Regions from separate parts of the Homo sapiens genome. Here regions 1, 3, 4, 5, 6 and 7 are each linked to region 2. The links are contacts of gene promoters, found by promoter capture Hi-C in blood cells and fetal thymus (Javierre and others, 2016). All regions are on one chromosome and are shown on one strand. Each heading gives the region's core, a stretch centred on a gene start or on the middle of the fragment in contact. The rest is flanking DNA. Distances are from core to core; before and after follow the strand shown.

Region 1 (2,700 bases), core at 53-2,552, 760 kb after region 2:
CATCTTGGAAAAAAAAAAAAAGACATAGAAAATCCAACCCCATTTTTATTATTAGATAAACCTCATTTTTTATTAGACACAATTATTCTTTGGGATTACTGTTGAAGTTTATAAATGCTTATTCTCAATTTCCGTACCTAGTTCATCTAAAAAACTGTTGCTGGGCCAGCACCTGCCTGTAGATTCCCCTCCTTTGGTTTTGGTGCCCACTATCTCTCTGTCCCTTTGGCCTAGGGGTAGTAACAGCTCTACTGTCTTCAGCCCTGCGTTCATGTAGCATCACCTGTGGTTTCCCTGCACCCCACTTGCATGTTTGTAATCAGTCCCTTTGTAAATTAATGGACCTGCCTCACCTTACCCTCATTTGAGCATGGCAGTTCTTTGTTTCCCCTGTGGCTGTGATTATCAGCAGTAAACGTCTTATCCTGGAAGAGGAGGTGACTGTGTGAATTTGGCAGGAGAAGGAATACACAACAAGTGCGTATATGGGAGTGAAGTTGCTGCTCACTGAAAGCAAGGAGAAAATTTATGGGGATGAAAGATGATAAGCCATTATCATTAAACATTTTAGGGTAACAAGATGGCATTAGGTTAGATTAATTTGTATGATTAACTATGCATACAGAGAAAAATATCTAGGATGTTTTGAGAGACTAGTTATAAGTGGACTTATCACATTTCTGGCAGATAAGAATCTTTTGACTAGATAAAAGACTGTAACCAACTGTCCAACAACACGTCCTTAAGCATGAATCATCACGTATTTTTAAATAAAGACATAGATTTCTAGATAGGGAAGAATGAATATATTTTTATGATTGTTTATTGAACAGTTTATGCCTTATGGGAATCCTTCTCGTGTAGATGTATCTATAGGTCACATTCCCTCACTTAAAGCATACTATGAAGTGCTACGTGGAATATCTGAGTGAGAACACCGGGACTGCTGCTTGTGACTGTATTGCTGAGACGTTCCACCCATTCACAGCAATGCTTATAAATAGACAATGTTTTTTCTTTGGGAGTCATTGTATGTGCTAACCTTAATGGTGTTACTCTAATAATTATGTACGAGCTTGTTAATGAACTGGGAAACATTGATTTTAGAAGCTTAGAAACTGTGGAGGAAGGTGCTTCATATGGATCTTTCTACTTTTTGTATCTTTTGTGTTTCCATGAAAAAATCTTTTAATTTGTGAAAAGTAAGCCTCAGAATTCATGTCTAAGCATTTCGTAGAAGGATGCACGTGAGAAAAAGCACCTGCGCTGTCATAGCGATCCTTTGGTGTTTTAAGATGAAAAAGTTCAAAGCATTTTAGAATAGTCATAAAGATGACATTGTATAAGTTAGGAGCTGGGTTGTCCTGTCACTTTGTGGTGACAAAACTGGTGAAAGTGGTATTAAAATCATTGCTGGATATGTTTGGAGTAATGCACTTCTGTTGATTGTTTCTGCATACCTTGACTTCTGCCCTTGTCCATGTAAAAGCTTCACTCTTCCTTTTAGAAACTGGTTTCTCCCAACCCCTACTGGAGATTGTCAACCAATGCACTTAACCTCACCCATTTGCCACAAGCTGGGCAAGTCACCCAGTCTGGGTCAATTGTAATCTTTACACAGAAACTTCTAAGGATGTGGAGAGCCAAAACTCTTGCCTCTTGTATTTGACCCCAGAGCTTCTGGTGGTCATGTTCCTGGCACAAGGAGAAACCCGGGAAAATGAGATGGATGCTGAGAAAACAGTAGAAGCTATGGGGACTGATTGGAGAGAGTTGTGTTGTCTTTGGTTCTAGTTCCTGACATCCTTAGTACTTTTCAGTTATTTTTCTTTAGTTCCTTCAATTTTGTAAGTTACCCAAGTTATTCTAGTATCTCAGTATGTCCTTTTTGGCTTTAACTAATTTGATTTGGGTTTCTGTTTCTTGCAATACAATTTTTCTAATTAATACAGCAGTTAAATATTGAGATATTTATTTCAAACAAAATTCCCAGCTCTTGAATTTAGCAAAGTTCCTCAGCACTTTCTGGAACTTCACTATCAATGTCAGGAGTCAACTTCCTAGGCAGAGTATAGTAAAATCTCTATTATGTTCCAGTAGTGGTGAGCAAAAATCTTTCAAAACTCATGGATAATTTCTATTTATTTTTATTTCACTTTGGAATACATAGAAACATTGTACATATTTTACTTTTTTTCACTTAGCACAATTAATACATCAAAAGTGAAGGTTGTTCCTCAGTGACAACTATGAGAGGGTAACTAACATTTGATGCCACTGAAAAGTTTTGGAGCCAAAAGGGGCCTCAATCTATAACCTAAACAACCTTGAGTTCAGAACAAATAATGGTGTTGAAATAATATTCTATGTATAGAACCATATGATTTTTAAGAGCAGGAGCAGGATAACTGAGGGAATAACTTATATACCTTGACAAGCCATGCAAAATCAGACTTCATAGATAACTCCAAGGAAGATGTTTAATGTAGGATATGAATCTAGGCTACACTTCATACATCATGTTTTCACAGAAAAATGCAGTTTCCTAGCAACCATCACCTGGTTGTCAAGTTATTATTTGATTTTTACAGACATCTGGCTTTTTAAGGCACATGCCTCACTGATATGTAAGCATAATATCTAGGTTAGTGTTGAAATAATTATATTTCACTTTCTTCCAAATAATACTTAAAAATTAAT
Region 2 (2,700 bases), core at 11-2,510:
CGTTGAAGGAGGGAAGGTGTTAAAAACAATAAAAAGGGCAGGGCTGTGGTGGCTCACGCTTGTAATCCCAGTACTGTGGGAAGCCAAGACGGGCAGATCACTTAAGTCCAGGAGTTCAAGTCCTCCTGGGCAATATGTGAAACTCCTCTCTACTAAAAATACAAAAATTAGCCGGGGGTAGTGGTGCCCACCTGTAGTCCCAGCTACTCAGGAGGCAGGAGGATCGCTTGAACCAAGGAGGAGGAGGCTGCAGGGAGCCTAGATCGCACTGCACTCCAGCCGGGGTAATAGAGTGAGACCCTGTCTCAACAACGTCAACAAAACCAATAAAAAGATAATTTCGTATTTAAGTTACCCAAGAAGGAACGGTAATTTGGATCAGATCTTAGATGATGACTAAGAAAAAGAACACTCCGGTAGAGGAATTAACTTTACAGAACGCACTGAGGCAAAAAGGAATACAGTGTTCAAGAGTAAACATTGAGTGTCAGGAGAAACATTAGATAGGAAAGGGCAGTTTGTCTTTCTAAGAAGTTTACACTTTCTCCAATAACAGTTGTTTTTGTCTTTTATAGGAAGCGCGGATTCTATTACTGGAAACTTTGGGACTGAAAGGCCAAAGCTTCTGGGCCCACCATCAACGCAGCTCCGCTTTCATTTCTTTCACATACAACTTTCCACATAAGATTTCATGCGGAAAAAAAAAAAAAACTCACAAAGGTTTTATACTGATAACAGTATATTAAGTGTTTACTTTGTACACAGCGTCTTTGTTCCAGACACTTGCCATGTCTCATTTATTCTCACACCACCACCACAGCGTCCTTTACAGATGAGAAGACAACCTCAGGGAGACGATGTATTTGCCTAGGTCCCATAGCTAGCAAGTGACAGCGCTGCAGTTTAAGCTCAGGCCGTCTTGGGGAGAGACCGTGCTCTTCTACCATTGCACTTTAAGCTGACTTTAGGGGAAACACAATCTGAGTTTTGACAAGTTTACTTCTGGCACATGCAGTCCCGAGCACTGCTTTTTGGCTAAAATGCCCAGTGATGTCAACTCTGTCCCTGGATTTCTACAACCCGATGAGTCAATATTCAGAAGAGACGTCGAAAGGAAAGGGTTCAATAGACAGAAAACACACCAGACAGTCCCAGAAACCCCAGAACCCTCGCCTCTGCCGGCGCGGACAGCCAAGACGTCACTTAAACGCGCTGCCGCCTCCTCGCCCCGCCCCGCCCCTGCGCGGAAGTCTATCCGGGCTTTCGCGTCACCACCCTGCCCACCTGGGTGGCGCGTGGCTTACGCAACGGTCACTGGGCTCCTGGGCCGCTCCCGGGCCAGCGAGGGCTGCGAAAGAAGTTGTAGGTACGGCCCATTTTTCTTAACGCCGCCCTTCCAAGCCCTTTGGCGCTAGTCCCGGGTCTGCCGCGATCGTTTCCTTGCGGTAGGCCGCAGGAGGGCCTTTCCTCCCCCTCAGTTCAATGGGATTCTTGGGCTCTTCTCCCAGACGCTGAGGGAACAGCCACAGACATTGTCTCTCCTCTCCGTGACTCCTTTCCTTACTCCGTCATCCCACATCTCTCTTGTTTGTTCTCTTTTCCTCCTGTTTTTCTTATTTTACAAATACTCGCCAGTAAGAAAGAAGAGATCTGTCAGTTAAGATTGACCTCAAAATTAATTTTATTAAGCGTGTACTATTTTACAAACGGTGGATCCCTGCAAATAAACCTTCACATACATGCTCCTGCGACTGGAGATTCTGGGATTGGTTGCCGATCCTGAGAAAGCTCTCTTCCCCCACCCACCCACATCCACGCCCCTTAATCCTGTTTACTCCTCTTGGCTTTAACCCAGGGGACAAGCACTTCCAGCAGTCCCCAACCTTTTTGGCACCAGGGATCAGTTTCATGGAAGACAGTTTGGGGTGGGGGGCAAGATGGGATGACACTCTTCTATCTCAGATCATCAGGCATTAGATTCTCTTGAGAAGGCGCAATTTAGATCCCTCACATGCGCAGTTCATAATCAGGTCTGTGCTCCTATGAGAATCTAATGCCTTTGCTCATCTGACAGGAGCTGGAGCTCAGGCATAATCCTCTAGCCCTGCTCACCTGCTGTGTGGCCTGTTCCTAATAGGCCACAAACCTGTACCTGTCTGCTGCCCAGGGGTTGGGGATCCCTGCTTTAGACCAGTGCTTTTGAAGGAAAAAGGAAAGTTGCACACATACTGTGTCTGTCACATCAATCAGTAGTGTTACAAGAGCTCTTCACGGGACCATACCAGGTCCCTCACTCCCCCTCTATGGGTGTCCTAGAGCCTGTGAAATAACAGATTTGGTGATGTGGGGAGACAACTGGCCCAGGTGGCACTGAGGGAGGCCACACCCCACTCTCTGATTTTCCTTAGAGATAAATATAATTATGTGTGCAACAGAAGCATGAAAAATGACACTTATTATTGTCACCCCTAGAGAATTCATGCCCCAAATATTTTAGTCACTGTGTGCCTATGAAAAGGGCATTCATAGGTATTGTCCCCTGTGAGTACCAGAATTTTTTTTAACTTACTTTTTAAAATTCTATACAGATTTAGTTAGTACAAGTTCAGTTTTGTTGTGTGGATATATTGCACAGTGGTGAAGTCTGGGCTTTTAGAGTACCAGAATTTATACTGCTGTTTTTCAGTTGGCTCTTGTCAT
Region 3 (2,700 bases), core at 126-2,625, 660 kb after region 2:
AATTTTTGTATTTTTAGTAGAGACAGAGTTTCACCATGTTGGTCAGGCTTGTCTCAAACCCTGATCTCCGGTGATCCACCCACCTCGGCCTCCCAAAGTGTTGGGATTACAGGCATGAGCCACTGCGCCCGGCCAGTTTGTCTGCTTATAACTGCCACACTTGTGCAACTGTTGTTAGTATACCTGAGTTTTATTCTTGCAAAAATATGTCATTATCATTGCCCATTTTATTGCAAAAAGTGGCATATGAAGTGTTCAGCTATGTTTTTACGTGTTTCTCAAGTAAGTTTCCTTTTAAAAATGTAGGCTGGGTGCGGTGGCTCATGCCTATAATCACAACACTTGGGAGGCCAAGGTGAGTGGATCACTTGAGGTCAGGAGTTTCAGACCAGTCTGGCCAACATAGCGAAATCCCATCTCTACTAAAAATGCAAAAAATTAGCTGGGCATGGTGGTGTGCGCCTGTACTTCTGGGAGTTTGAGGCACGAGAGTCACTTGTACCGGGAGGCAGAAGTTTCAGTGAACCAAGATTGAGCCACTGCACTCCAGCCTGAGTGACAAAGTGACTCTGTCTCAAATAATAATAATAATAAGTAATAAAAATGAAAATGTAAACAAATGTCTTTTAAATAATTTTTTAAATTTATTTTTTCCAGAGTTTTATTTTTGGAATTTTGACTTTTCAGGATGGTGATTTTTGGGATTTTAAGGATTTTGATCTTTTGGGATTTCAACATTTGGGATTATGGCCTTCAGGATTGTGTCTTTTGGGGTTACGGCCCAAACCTGTATTATCCATGGGTTGAATCCTATAACACTGGAAGGTCAAAGTGAGAGAGTTCATCTTAGCCTATTGCTTAAAAAATTAATAAATTCTATTTTAGAACAGTTTTAGGTCGACAGAAAAATGAGCAGAGAGTTGCCATAAACCTCCTTGTATCCCTCTACAAGTTTCTCTTAGTAACATTTTGCATTATTGCAATATATTTGTTGCAATTGATGAGCCAGTATTGATACATTATTATTAACTAAAGCCCACTGTTTACATTAAGCTTCGCTCTTGGTGCTGTACGTCAGGGTTTGGTAATATATAATATATATCCACCACTACGGTGTATACTGAATAGTAGTACTGTCCTAAAATGCTCTGTGTTGTACCTATTAAGCATCCCTGCCTCCTCTCGGCCTTTTGGCAACTGCTGATCGTTTGATTGTTGCCATAGTTTTGCCTTCCCTGGAAGGTCACATAGTTGGAATCATACAGTATGTAGCCCTTGCAGATTGACTTCTTTCATTTATCAATATGCACTTAAATTCCTCCATGTCTTTTTGTGGCTCGATAGTTTATTTCTTTTTATAATATTCCATTGTATGCCTACACTACTGTATAATATTCCATTGTATGCCTATACTACTGTTTATTTTTACATTCACCTACTGAAGGAGATCTTGGTTGCCTCCAAGTTTTGGCAGTGATGAATAAAGTGGCATCTTATCCTGTTTTTTGCATTTAAACATACATGATGTAGTATTAATTTGCCACCGATGATGTACTCATTATGAAATTTTAGAAAGCGCAGAAAATACTTTAAAAAATACTATTGGTAATCTCATGCCAAATATAACACTAGTAGCTGTTATGTATATCTATGTTTTCTTTTCTTTTCCTAAATCAATATCTATGTCTGAAAGCTTATTTTTGCCTATATATGCCTCAATTAATTGTTCTTATAAGCTCAAGTATTATATTCTATAGTTTTGTATTCTTGTGTTTTTCTCCCCACTTAATATTATATGCACATCATGGAAGATGGGGTATTCACTCCCTCAAGCATTTATCCTTTGTGTTGCAATCTAATTATATTCTTCTAGTTATTTTTAAATGTACAATTAAATTATTATTGACGATAGTCACCCTGTTGTGCTGTCAGATACTAGGACTTATTCATTAATTTTAATTATTTTTTTGTACCTATTAACCATCCCCTCCCCTTCTCCTCCCCACCACCCGGCAACCTGTTTTGTTCATCGATGATTCTTCAGTACACAGAAGAGTGTCTACTAGGCACCCCAAAAATATCTGTTGAATAAGTGAAGGAATTGTATTTTTGAAATTTGCATGATCTCGTTAGCTATTCTTTGGAATCAAACCAAAGTTTACTTGTAGTAAAAGTTATTGCCTGTTAAATTGAGAATCAAAATAATCATGCAGTCTTACAGTGTTTTTAAGGAACTGATTTCTATAGTGGCTTTCTCATATAGTTAGTGATGGCAATGTTTTTACCAGCTCATCATTAGCATGTTCTGCAACTTGAGGGTTTTTCAGTGATGGGGTAATATTGTTCCTGCCCTGCCCCTTCTCTTGAGAATAATGGCACACGGTTGCTAAGAGGCTGGTAGGGATTAAGCATTCTCTTGAGCAAAACAACACTGGTTTGTGCTGGAAATAACTTTAACTTGGTGGTAGCAATGCGCTGCTGACAGGGTCCCAGCTAGAACATGCATTCTTCACCATCTTGAGGCTTCCTTGATGAGAACCACTCACTGAGAGCAGTTTGTAAGGTTCATCAAGGCTGTGCCTTGCCCTCCATGTATTTCCTGTAGATTTCCTGGGAAACCAACCTCTTCACTTCAGCTGACCTGAAATCCCCACAGGTCCGCTCAAATGCTGTATTTGTTTGCATCCAACAAAGTGGAAG
Region 4 (2,700 bases), core at 131-2,630, 690 kb after region 2:
CTTCTCATTTAGCCTGGGATTTTCTCTGTAGCCCATTACTATATTCTTTACGGCAACTTAGAAACACTGATATCAGGATTAGTTTATTTGTAGCATCAGGGCCACATTAAACTGATTCTAGGAAAGTTTCATAGAATGAGAAGAAAAACTTATGGCTGGAATATTTGCCTCCTCAGAGGTCTTGGTAGATGATTCCCAGGTTATTGATTTATATTTCTCAGAATTATATTCAAACACAGTGTGCTAGTTTGAAATCTCCTTTCATTCACCTTCTTTCCTTAATCTACAAAATTAGCAATTGTTTATAAATTGAGTGTCTTATGTGTCCAAGGACTTATTAGGGGTTGAAGAAGATATAAAAAGGAAGAAGTCCATTCTCTGTAGATTTTTATGATCTTATTGAAGGAATATCCATTTCATGAGAAGATAATAATACATGGAAGCACACATTAAGTGCTAAACAAATAGATAACAGGGATGTCTGGAGTCTGGAGAAGGGATGGGTATAGCAATATTAGGCAGTGAAGATGGATTCCAAATGGGCCTTGCAGGACAGACAGGAGTTGGGTAGTTTGAGAGGAGATGTATCATATTCTAGGCAGGGGTCATGGGAGATGCAAAGTCACAGTGAAGTTACAATATAAGGCTGATTATAACTGGTTAGGATAGAGTATTCATCTATCCTTTTACAGCATGCTGAAGGGGGAAGGAATATTAGAGACAGGCAAGTGAGGTTCTTAAGTGTTAGGACTTTAGACTCTCGGCATAAATGTGTACAATTTTTTTGAGACAGGGTCTCACTGTGTCACCCAGGCTGGATTGCAGTGGCACGATCATGACTCACTGCAGCCTTGACCTCCTGGGCTCAAGCGATCCTCCTGCTCATCCTTCTGAGTAACTGGGACTACTGGTGTGCACCATCATGCTTAGCTAATTTTTAATTATTTTTGTCATTCAAGCTGGTTTTGAACTCCTGGGCTTAAGTGATCCTCCTGCCTTGGTGTCTCAAAGTGCTAGGATTACAAGTGTGAGCCACCATGCCAGGCCAGAAATGTGTAATTTTGAAGGTTTTTGTTTTTGTTTTTTTGGTATGTGTGTGTGCAAGGGTTGCAGTTTGGGCAGAAGAAGGACATGCTGATGGGTGATGCATCAGTAGAAACAACCTTGTGGAGTTGTAGGATAACCAGGATGAGAAGGGTATTGGATACGATTAGGTTAGAAGCTCCTAGCTCCTCAGTGAAGTGGTACATAAGGGCTCTCTCTGCTGGTGTGTCATTTTTATCTGCTAGATTCTCAAACATTTTGGTCTCAGGACCCCCTTGTACTCTTAAAAATTATTGAGAATACCAAAGAGCCTTAATATATGTGATTTATATCTATTAATACTTACCATTATAGAAATTAATGTTAAGAAAACTTGAAAATATTTAATTTATTAAACATAACAATAAACCCATTCCATGCTAATTTTATTTTTTATTTTTTTGAGACGGAGTCTTGCTCTGTCGCCCAGGCTGGAATGCAGTGGCGCGATCTCGGCTCACTGCAAGCTCTGCCTCCTGGGTGCACCCCATTCTCAGACCTCAGCCTCCCGAGTAGCTGGGACTACAGGCGCCCGCCACGAGGCCTGGCTAATTTTTTGTAGTTTTAGTAGAGACGGGGTTTCACCGTGTTAGCCAGGATGGTCTCGATCTCCTGACCTTGTGATCTGCCCGCCTCGGCCTCCCAAAGTGCTGGGATTACAGGCGTGAGCCACCGCACCCGGCCAAGGTGCACTCATTTCTTGTGGCAACTCCCCAGCCCTGAGTTGAAGAAGCAGCATGCCCTCCACACTTTATCCTCAGAAGGACTGAGTGGGAAACCCTTGGTGTACATCAAGGAAACAAAGGCTTTTGATCTTGGCAAAATGGGATAATGCCCATGGGATTCCCTAGCAGATGATGGGAAGTAGGGTGGCCTCTGCCCCCTGAAGACATGTCAGGGGTGGGAAGCGAAGGATCTAGATTGGGTGTCTGTGCTCTGACACCACACCACACTTTTAGGAGTCTAAAAGAACACCTTCTCTTTTCAAGACAAGACCTCGAAAAGCTGAATATGGAATGGGGTAGGGCTGGGAAACTTGTCCATCACTATGACAAAGACAGAAAATGTTGTAAACCTCTTTTAAAAAGATTGTTGTAGCTTTCAACATTCTTTCTTTTTCTTTAGTAAAATCTCTAAGAATTCCAGCCTGCCTTTTGTTTAGGGGAACCTGGAAAAAGAGATTTTAAACAAACAAAACATGACTTAATTTTATTTTTCTTAAAAGAAACTGAAATACAAGTACATTGTTAAAAACTTTGGCAGATATAAAGAAGCAGAAAGGAAAAAAAATAAAACCACACATAATTTTACCACTCAGAGATAAACACTGTTAACATTTGGAGCACAGATTTATCCTTATTTATAGCAGCATTCTCTATATATTGTTTCATAATAATCTTTTTATCCCTAGCAGTGCATCATAAAACAAGGCATCTTTATCCTTTAAATTGTATATTCAGGAAAAGCGTTCTTCATCTTCCCTTCAAAAAGAGTTTTGAGAGTGAACGTAAGTGTGTGTGTATGTATGTGTATGCATGTGAGTGTGTGTGTATATGAGTGTGAGTGTGCATGTATGTGAGAGTGCATGTGTGTTGGTGGCATCAGTGCCAGAGTGAC
Region 5 (2,700 bases), core at 187-2,686, 710 kb after region 2:
AAACATAGCCCTTCTCATTGAGAATCACACAGTTTATATGATGTAGGCAAATATATCAGTGATAAAATTACTGTAGCACACAAGAAGTGGTAAGTGAACAAAGAGTAATGGGAATCCTGACCAGCCAGGGAGTACTGCCTGGAGAGCAGGGAAGCTTCATAGAGGAGATCTTTGTGTTGGCTTGGAAGGCCACGTATGACTTTCTTAGGCAAGGAAGATAGGAAAGTGTTTTCAGACAGAGAACCACAGTGTAAAGGTAAAGCTCGGTTGGGAAAACATAGTGTTTGGGTAAAGGCCATGTTGAGAAGGGGGTAAATAACACTGGAGAGGCTGTGCAAGGGTCAGTTTATGAGGGGCGATTTCAAATGGGGGCATGAGATGATCACTTTTGTGATTTAGTATAAGTCTGTAGGCCATGTCAGCTAGTAGGAGGGGCACCAGATCGATAACTGTCATGTTATATAAGATGAGGGAGTGAGAGGTGATGAGGGTCTGACTTCAAGACCACTGGCAATGAGGATGGAGAGGCTAGAGGTGAGAGATGCCTGAAGCAGAACTGGTAGGGTTTGATCACCAGTTGTCTATGGAATTAATTGGTGGAAAGTGAAAAACTGAAATTGATCCTACTGTTCCTGTTATTTATGTAGGTAGTGAACAAGGGTAATGGAACAGGTGTTTGCAGGGAAGCTGATGAGTTTAACATGTGCATGTGGCTTTGCTTCTATTGGCACTTAACAATTTCTTTGCCTTTTAATTTTAGTTTTCAACATGTATATATCTTGTCTACCCAATGAGATTATAAATATTTGTTGAATGAATGAAGGCATGTAGGCTAGTGATGGATAGAAGTATGTTTGTGTTAAGAGAAATTCCATGTAGATCTACCACGATAAAAGGTGTGGAATTGAGAACTCTCTCCAAGTGGAATGTCTGTGGGGACTAGTAGTATTGTTTAAGGTGATAAGGTAATAAATGGGAATGAAGTGGGCTGTTAGGTGAAGTTGTAGGGCATGGCCAGGACCTGCAACTGATAGGAAAGTGTCTGGAGAAGATGCAGTCGTCATGGTCAGTGCTGTGATGATTCTCGGGGTTACATAGTACCATTTATAATCTGACCTTTTCATTTGGTACTTAGCACAGGTGACTTTGTATCACTCTGTGTGTGTGTTTGCACTTGTGTGTGTTTGTGTGTGTGTGGTGGCAGGAGCCATGGTTTGGTCCACGTCATCTAGGCTGAATGAACATTTACTAAGTTTGTTTATTTGTACATAGAAATTCTAGACTAACAATAATTATAGTGAACAATCTCGTGTTAATAAAGTATGTATAATTCAGGAAAACATTTTTACAGTTTTATTGAGTCCTTTGGGCTTTTGAAAAATGAGATTATCTCTAAAGGAATAATAAAGCATATGCTAAAAAATGTGGGCCTGGGAGCCAGACTGTCCAGGTTCAAAATCCAGCTTTCTATCTGCGTGATTCTGGCAGGTTACTTGAATTCCATCTGCTTTGGTTTCCCCAACTGTATGAAGGAGGTAGTAGTATTTCTCTTACAGGGTTTTGTGAGGTTCAAATAAGTTGACATATGTTGATCACTTAGCACAGGGCCTGGCACATGGCAAATGCTCCCTGAGCTGTAGGTGTTACTAGTGTACTCCACTGACAGTGCCATGGAGAAAAGTGGCCCACCATTTAAACATGCTTTCTGGATATTTTAAAGAAGTGGCTATGCAGAGGCAGCTTTCTCCTCTGTCACACTGTACTTTGTGTACAGTGTGTGGGGCCAGAGGCAAAGTCACATGTTGCACAGCCCTGAGGCCACGTTGTATCTCAGCCTGCACCCACACATAGGTGACTGTCCTGGGTATGTTTCACTTGTGTTCCCATTTTGTCCTTACACCAGCCCCTTTAAGATAGAGAGAGGGAAATTGAGGCCCAAAGGCAATAGGTCACACATGCCATTAGCTATAGAGCTTAGGATAGTATTCATTCATTTTATTCTAAGCAATACTTATTGTGTGCCTACTGGGTGCCAGGCCCTGGGTCTCCAGAGATGAAAGATGCACCACCTTTTTCTGTCACCAGCATCTCTTCTGTATGGAATATTTTTGCCTAATTTGTGTCTCACAGGGTGGGTTATGTAATGCAGCTGCTCCCTCCTGCCCCATGTGCTCACTTCCTGAGTGCTTATTGCATCAGACTGACTTTGATTCCCAGGAGGCTCCAGCTGGGGACCTGAGGTGCTGCTGGTGCCACCTTCTCTGAGGAGATGCTGTCCTCAGGAGTCTGAAGACAAATGATTGTGACAAACTCAGTGTTAGCAGCTATGGTCACCTTGAAGCTAGCTCACTGTGACCCATCTCCATCCCTGCCCTCCCACCCATCACCCCATACCTTTGTCCTGAGGCTCACACTGCCCCTGTTTTTTCTTTTTTTTCAAAATGCTGTTTTAATCTATTCCTTGAGCCATAGATGAAACTAGGTGGCTTGGAGCCTGTGGATCTCAGATTGTTTGTCGCTGTTCGCTGTTCTAGATGTTCTCCAATTTCCCTGCAAGCTGTAAAACTCATTAATCCCATAATGATGATTTAGGGCTGATTAAAACATAAACAGTATTACTATTAATGCTTGCTATGCCATATTTGTATTCTCAGTTTTCTATATACTTTTCATTGAGTAGATTTTGTTCTTTTAAAGAAG
Region 6 (2,700 bases), core at 1-2,500, 730 kb after region 2:
TTTACCTTCTTCACACCTACAAACTCAACCATGTACTACACAGCTGTGAGATACAGAGTGGTGGCCCATCTAGTTAGAATCACACACTGTTGTAGACAAGGAGAACAGTATGCCTTGAAACTCTGGAGTGCACTGGGAGCCAGGTGATCACATGAAAGTAGTCTGCTTCTTTGTATGAAGTTCCAGAAACATCATTATGTTCTTTACCTCCTGGAAGGCTGTCCCTGCTCAGATATTCTCTGAACCATAGTCGGTGTCAAAATCAGATGAATTTGGTTCCAGACCACTGCAATAAAGTAAATATCACAATAAAGCAGGTCACATGATTTCTGGTTTCCCAGTGAATATAAAAGATATGTTTTCACTACACTATAGTCTATTAAGTGTGCACTGTCATTATGTCTAAACAATGACATTGATATCTTAATTTAAAAATACCTTATTGCTAAAAAGTGCTACTGATCATCCAAGCTTTCAGCAAGTTCTAATGTTTTTGTAAGTGGAGGGCCGTGCCTCTGATGTTGACGGCTGCTGACCAGGGTGGTGGTTGCTGAAGTTTGGAGTGACTGTGGAAGTATTTTAAAACAATGAAGTTTGCAACATCGATTGCTTCTTTCATGAAAGATTTCTCTGTACATGCGAGAACATGCTGTTTGACAGCATTTTACCCACAGTAGAACTTCTTTCCACATTGGATGCCATCCTCTGAACCTCTACCACTGCTTTGTCAACTACATTTATGAAGTATTCTAAATCCTTTGTTGTCATTTCAACGTTGTTCACAGCATCTATACCAGCAGTAGATTCTGTTTCAAGAAACCACTTTGTTTGCTCATTCATGAGAAGCAACTGCTCATTTATTCAAGTTTGATCATGAGATTGCAGCAATTCACTTCCATCTTCAAGCTTAACTTCTCATTGTAATTCTCTTGCTATTTCCCGTACACCTACCGTGACTTCCTTTACTGGATTCTTGAACACCTCAAAGTTATCCATGAAGGTTGGAATCAACTTCTTCCCAACTCCTGTAAATGTGGATATTTTGACCTCCTCCCATGAATCATAAATGTTCTTAATGGCATCTAGATTGATGAATCCTTTCTAGAAGGTTTTCAACTTCCTTTGCTGAGATTCATTATAGGAATCACTACTATGGCAGCTACAGTCTTACACAATGTATTTCTTAAATAATATGACTTGTAAGTCAAAACTACTCCTTGACCCATGGACTTCAGGAGGGATGTTATGTTGGCAGGCATGAAAACGACATTCATCTCCTTGTACATCCCCGTAAGAGCTCTTAGGTGACTAGATGCACTGTCAATAAGCAGTAATATTTTGAAAGGAATTTCTTTTATTTTTCTGAGCTGTAGGTCCCAACAGTGGACTGAAAATATTCAGTAAACCATGCTGTAAACAGATGTGTTACCATCCAGGCTGTGTTGTTTCATTTCTAGAGCACAGACAGAGTAAATTTAGCACAATTATTAAGGGCCCTAGAAGTTTTGGAATGGTAAATGATCATTGGTCTCAACTTAAAGTTACCAGCTGCATTAACCCCAAACAAGAGAGTCAGCCTGTCCTTTGAAGCTTTGAAACCAGGCACTGACTTCTTCTCTTTAGCTATGAAAGCCCTGGATGGCATCTTCTTCCAACAGAAGGCTGTTTTACCAACATTGAAAATTTGGTGTTTAGTGTGCCACCTTCATCAATGATTTTAGTTAGATCTCCTGGATAACTTCTCCATCAGAACTTGCTACTTCACTTGGCACTTCTATGTCATAGAGATGGCTTCTTTTCTTAAACCCAATGAACCAATTCTGCTACCTTCCAACCTTTCTTCTTCAGCTTTGTCACCTCTCTCAGCCTTCATAGAATTGAAAAGAGGGGCTTGCTCCTACTTTAGGGTATGTTGTGGGTGGTTTGATCTTCTATCCAAACCACTCAAATTTTACTCATGTCAGCAATAATGCTGCTTTGCTTTCCTATCATTTGTGTGTTCATTGGAGTAGCACTTTTAATTTCCTTCAAGAAGTTCTCCTTTGCATTCACAGCTTGGCTGTTTGGCACACAAAACCTAGATTTGGTCTATCTTGGCTTTTGACATGTTTTCCTCACTAAGTTTAATCATTTCTATCTTTTGATTTTAAGTGAGAGACATGCAATTCTCCTTTTACCTGATCACATAGAGGCCATTTTAGGATTATTAGTTAGCATAATTTCAATTCTCTTGTGTCTCAGGGAATAGAGAGGCCCTACAGAAGGGAGGAAATTGGGGGAATGGCTGGTCACCGGAGCAGTCAGAACACATACAACATTAATTGGTTAAGTCTGCCATCTTATGGGGGCACAGTCATGGTGTCCCAAAACAATGACAATAGTAACATCAAAATCACTGATTACAGATCACCATAATAGATATAATAATAATGAAAAAGTTTGAAATATTGTGAGAATTGCCAAAATGTGGCACAGAGGCATGAAATGAGCACATGCTGATAGAAAAATGGTGCTGATAGACTTGCTCAATGCAGGGTTGCAACAAACCTTCAATTTGTAAAAATCACAATATCTGAGAAGCACAATAAAGTGAAGTGCAGGAAAAAGAGGTATGCCTGTACCTGTCACTCCTGAATAACTAATAGAAATAATAATGGTGGTAGTTGGTGGTGTGATGCTGGTGGTACCTGTCACGTGCAA
Region 7 (2,700 bases), core at 25-2,524, 750 kb after region 2:
AGTTTGAACTTCCTGGAGGCTTTGTTTACATTATGAAGGGAAAACTGCCTACTCAAGCCTCAGTAATGGCAGATGCCCCTCCCCACACCAAGCTCGAGTGCCCCAGGTTGACTTCAGACTGCTGTGCTGGCAGCGAGAATTTCAAGCCAGTGGGTCTTAGCTTTCCAGGCTCCATGGAGGTGGGACCCGCTGAGCAAGACCACTTGGCTCCCTGGCTTCAGCCCCCTTTCCAGGGGAGTGAATGATTCTGTCTTGCTGGTGTTCCAGGCACCACTGGGGTATGGAAAAAAACTCCTGTAGCTCGCTTGGTGTCTGCCCAAACAACCACCCAGTTTTGTGGTTGAAACCCAGGGCCCTTGAGGTGTAGGCACCCTAGGGAATCTCCTGGTCTGTAGGTTGCAAAGACCTTGGGAAAAGCATAGTATCTGGGCTGGAGAGCACTGTCCCTCATGGCATGGCTCCTCATGGCCTCCTTTGGCTCCAGGAGGGAGGTCCCCGGCTCCTTGCACTTCCTGGGTCCTCACCCTGCTTCTGCTTGCCCTCAGAGGGCTGCACCCACTGTCTAACCATCCTGAATAGATGAACTGGGTACCTCAGTTGGAAATACAGAAATCACCTACCTTCTGCGTTGGTCTGGCTAGGAGCTACAGACCAGAGCTGTTCCTACTTGGCCATCTGGCCTGTCAGTAAGAATTCTTTAAGTGGTGTATTAGGCATAAAAATAAGATAGATTACTTTATTTATCTGTTTATTTATTTAGAGACAAGGTCTAACTCTGTCGCCCAGCTGGAGTGCAGTGGCGCAATCATAGCTCACTGTAACTCTCCTTCAGCCTTTCGAGTAGCTGGGAACATAAGCTCATGACACCATACCTGGGTAATTTTTTCTTTCTTTCTTTTTTTTTTCTGAGATGGAGTCTCACTCTGTCACCCAGGCTCGGCTCACTGCGATCTCGGCTCACTGCAAGCTCTGTCTCCCGGGTTCACACCATCCTCCTGCCTCAGCCTCCTGAGTAGCTGGGACTACAGGCGCCCACCACCACTCCCAGCTAATTTTTTTTATTAGTATTTTTAGTAGAGACGGGGTTTCACCATGTTAGCCAGGATGGTCTCGATCTCCTGACCTCGTGATCTGCTTGTGTCGGCCTCCCAAAGTAATATATTTTTTGTATAGACGAGGTCTAGTTATGTTGTTCAGGTTGGTCTTGAACACCTGGCCTCAAGCAGTCCTCCCCCTTGGCATCCCATAGTGCTGGGATTACTGGCAGGAGCCCCTGAGCCTGACTTATACCCCTTTTACTCTCACCTCTTGGTTCCTGGATTTGTGCATTCTCTACAGCAGAGATGACACCATATACTTGGCTGCCCAACCTATGAACAGAACTCCAACCTCTCAGGGTGTTATCTCTTGGCTTGCACCCTGGCTGAGGCTTCATCAGGACATTTCATCATTCTGTCAAACTGGTTGCTACTAGAGGGTGCAGGTGATGTGATCCATGAATTATATGTATTGAGCCCACTGTCTCACTTCCTTTGCTAAAAAATGGTTAGGAGATAGTTTTCACAGGAAACCTTGGCTATATATCAGTTGCACTATAAGTCCATGAATGATGGTGCTTGCAGAGGCACTGAAGGCAGGGAAGACATATATTGTATATGTCTATCTTTGTGAGTCCAAGAGCATCCCCTTATAATGGGAGGAATCCAGTGGAATCATTCTGCTACCACATACAGCCACCTGGTCCTCTTGCCCTGTTGGACAGTGATAGCTTTTTGGGGGCTCAGCATCAGCCTTGGCTTTTGAAGTTTGGGACTTCTTTAGTGCTGGAAAGCCAGATTCCCCCTGGTAGGAGAAGAGAATGCTGAACCTATATATATCCTCCCTCTGCACCACTCTGTGCTTTATATGTGGGTCCATTAAGCAAACATTTGGATGGTTGATGAAGGATACTGAGTGACAATCAGATTTTCTTGTTCACTTTATTACTGAAGCTATCCTCTGTGATGGCCTTTTATGAGATTTAGTGGAATAGAATTAGATTCACATTCTGTACTTATTAAAAGAGACTCTTCCATATATTCTTCACCTCCTCCTTTGTGTCCTTCTTGTCTGTCCTTATCTTTCTCCTCCTTTTAGTCCTCTTCCTGCTCCTCTTACTCATGCTTGCTCGTTTCCTTCTCCTTGTTCTCCCTGTTTTCCTTTTCCTCCTTCTCCACATGCTCCACCTTGTCCTCCTCCTAATCATCCTTCTCTTCATCCTCTTCCTCATCCTCCTTCTCATCCTCCTTATACTTGTCTTCCTCCTCCTCCTCCTCATGCTACTTCTCCCTTTCCTTGTGCTCCCTATTCCCCCAGGCCTCCTCATCCTCTACAACTTTCTCCTCCTTCCTTAAACTGTTCTGCAATAAGCCCATTTGTTTTCTCCATTTTAATTTCTAAGTACTTTTTTTGAAAAAAATTTTGTTTTTTGCCCTCCAATTTATGTTGGGATTCAACATAGTCTCCCTCTATTTTTTTAACTTTGGTGCATGATATTCTTTCTCCCCCATTCTGATAACACTACACATTGCTTTGACTTCCATCCCCATTAATAACTAAGTGAAAGGTGTTACAAGTCTTGCTGAAGATTACACGGTAATTCTTCTCACAGCCAAGCTTGAACTCAGTTTTAGATTCCAGACTTAGTGTCTTTTCACTAGG

Evidence for each region. Contacts are between HindIII fragments. The CHiCAGO score rates a contact against its expected background, and 5 or more counts as called.
Region 1: a fragment that was not itself captured here is called in contact with the fragment with the promoter of SLC9B1 in region 2 in 1 of 17 cell types (M2 macrophages); the score reaches 5.7 in M2 macrophages.
Region 3: a fragment that was not itself captured here is called in contact with the fragment with the promoter of SLC9B1 in region 2 in 10 of 17 cell types (monocytes, non-activated CD4 T cells, total CD4 T cells and 7 more); the score reaches 11.1 in monocytes.
Region 4: a fragment that was not itself captured here is called in contact with the fragment with the promoter of SLC9B1 in region 2 in 2 of 17 cell types (non-activated CD4 T cells and activated CD4 T cells); the score reaches 7.8 in non-activated CD4 T cells.
Region 5: a contact is called between a fragment that was not itself captured here and the fragment with the promoter of SLC9B1 in region 2, in 9 of 17 cell types (non-activated CD4 T cells, total CD4 T cells, total CD8 T cells and 6 more). The highest score is 12.6, in non-activated CD4 T cells.
Region 6: a fragment that was not itself captured here is called in contact with the fragment with the promoter of SLC9B1 in region 2 in 7 of 17 cell types (activated CD4 T cells, naive CD8 T cells, naive CD4 T cells and 4 more); the score reaches 8.0 in activated CD4 T cells.
Region 7: a contact is called between a fragment that was not itself captured here and the fragment with the promoter of SLC9B1 in region 2, in 1 of 17 cell types (total CD8 T cells). The highest score is 5.3, in total CD8 T cells.

The regions. Positions count from the first base shown.
Region 1 is chr4:102,254,479-102,257,178 of GRCh38, reverse strand. It overlaps a transcript of SLC39A8 not described here. Among named protein-coding and RNA genes, the nearest start is that of SLC39A8, 90 kb to the left of the region's middle. The HindIII fragment of the contact is 379 bases long and covers 1,113-1,491 here.
Region 2 is chr4:103,018,265-103,020,964 of GRCh38, reverse strand. It overlaps SLC9B1 (solute carrier family 9 member B1), which reads left to right and starts at 1,260. Exons shown (of 12, transcript NM_139173.4): 1 at 1,260-1,366. It also overlaps a transcript of SLC9B2 not described here. RefSeq lists an enhancer at 919-1,419. The HindIII fragment of the contact is 6,332 bases long and covers 625-2,700 here.
Region 3 is chr4:102,363,343-102,366,042 of GRCh38, reverse strand. No RefSeq gene overlaps it. Among named protein-coding and RNA genes, the nearest start is that of SLC39A8, 19 kb to the right of the region's middle. The HindIII fragment of the contact is 640 bases long and covers 1,056-1,695 here.
Region 4 is chr4:102,325,347-102,328,046 of GRCh38, reverse strand. The region is part of intron 2 of SLC39A8 (solute carrier family 39 member 8); the gene reads left to right. Among named protein-coding and RNA genes, the nearest start is that of SLC39A8, 19 kb to the left of the region's middle. The HindIII fragment of the contact is 8,294 bases long and covers 1-2,700 here.
Region 5 is chr4:102,307,714-102,310,413 of GRCh38, reverse strand. The region is part of intron 3 of SLC39A8 (solute carrier family 39 member 8); the gene reads left to right. Among named protein-coding and RNA genes, the nearest start is that of SLC39A8, 36 kb to the left of the region's middle. The HindIII fragment of the contact is 2,560 bases long and covers 157-2,700 here.
Region 6 is chr4:102,287,954-102,290,653 of GRCh38, reverse strand. All of the region lies in intron 6 of SLC39A8 (solute carrier family 39 member 8), which reads left to right. Among named protein-coding and RNA genes, the nearest start is that of SLC39A8, 56 kb to the left of the region's middle. The HindIII fragment of the contact is 684 bases long and covers 909-1,592 here.
Region 7 is chr4:102,270,642-102,273,341 of GRCh38, reverse strand. The region is part of intron 6 of SLC39A8 (solute carrier family 39 member 8); the gene reads left to right. Among named protein-coding and RNA genes, the nearest start is that of SLC39A8, 73 kb to the left of the region's middle. The HindIII fragment of the contact is 2,766 bases long and covers 1-2,657 here.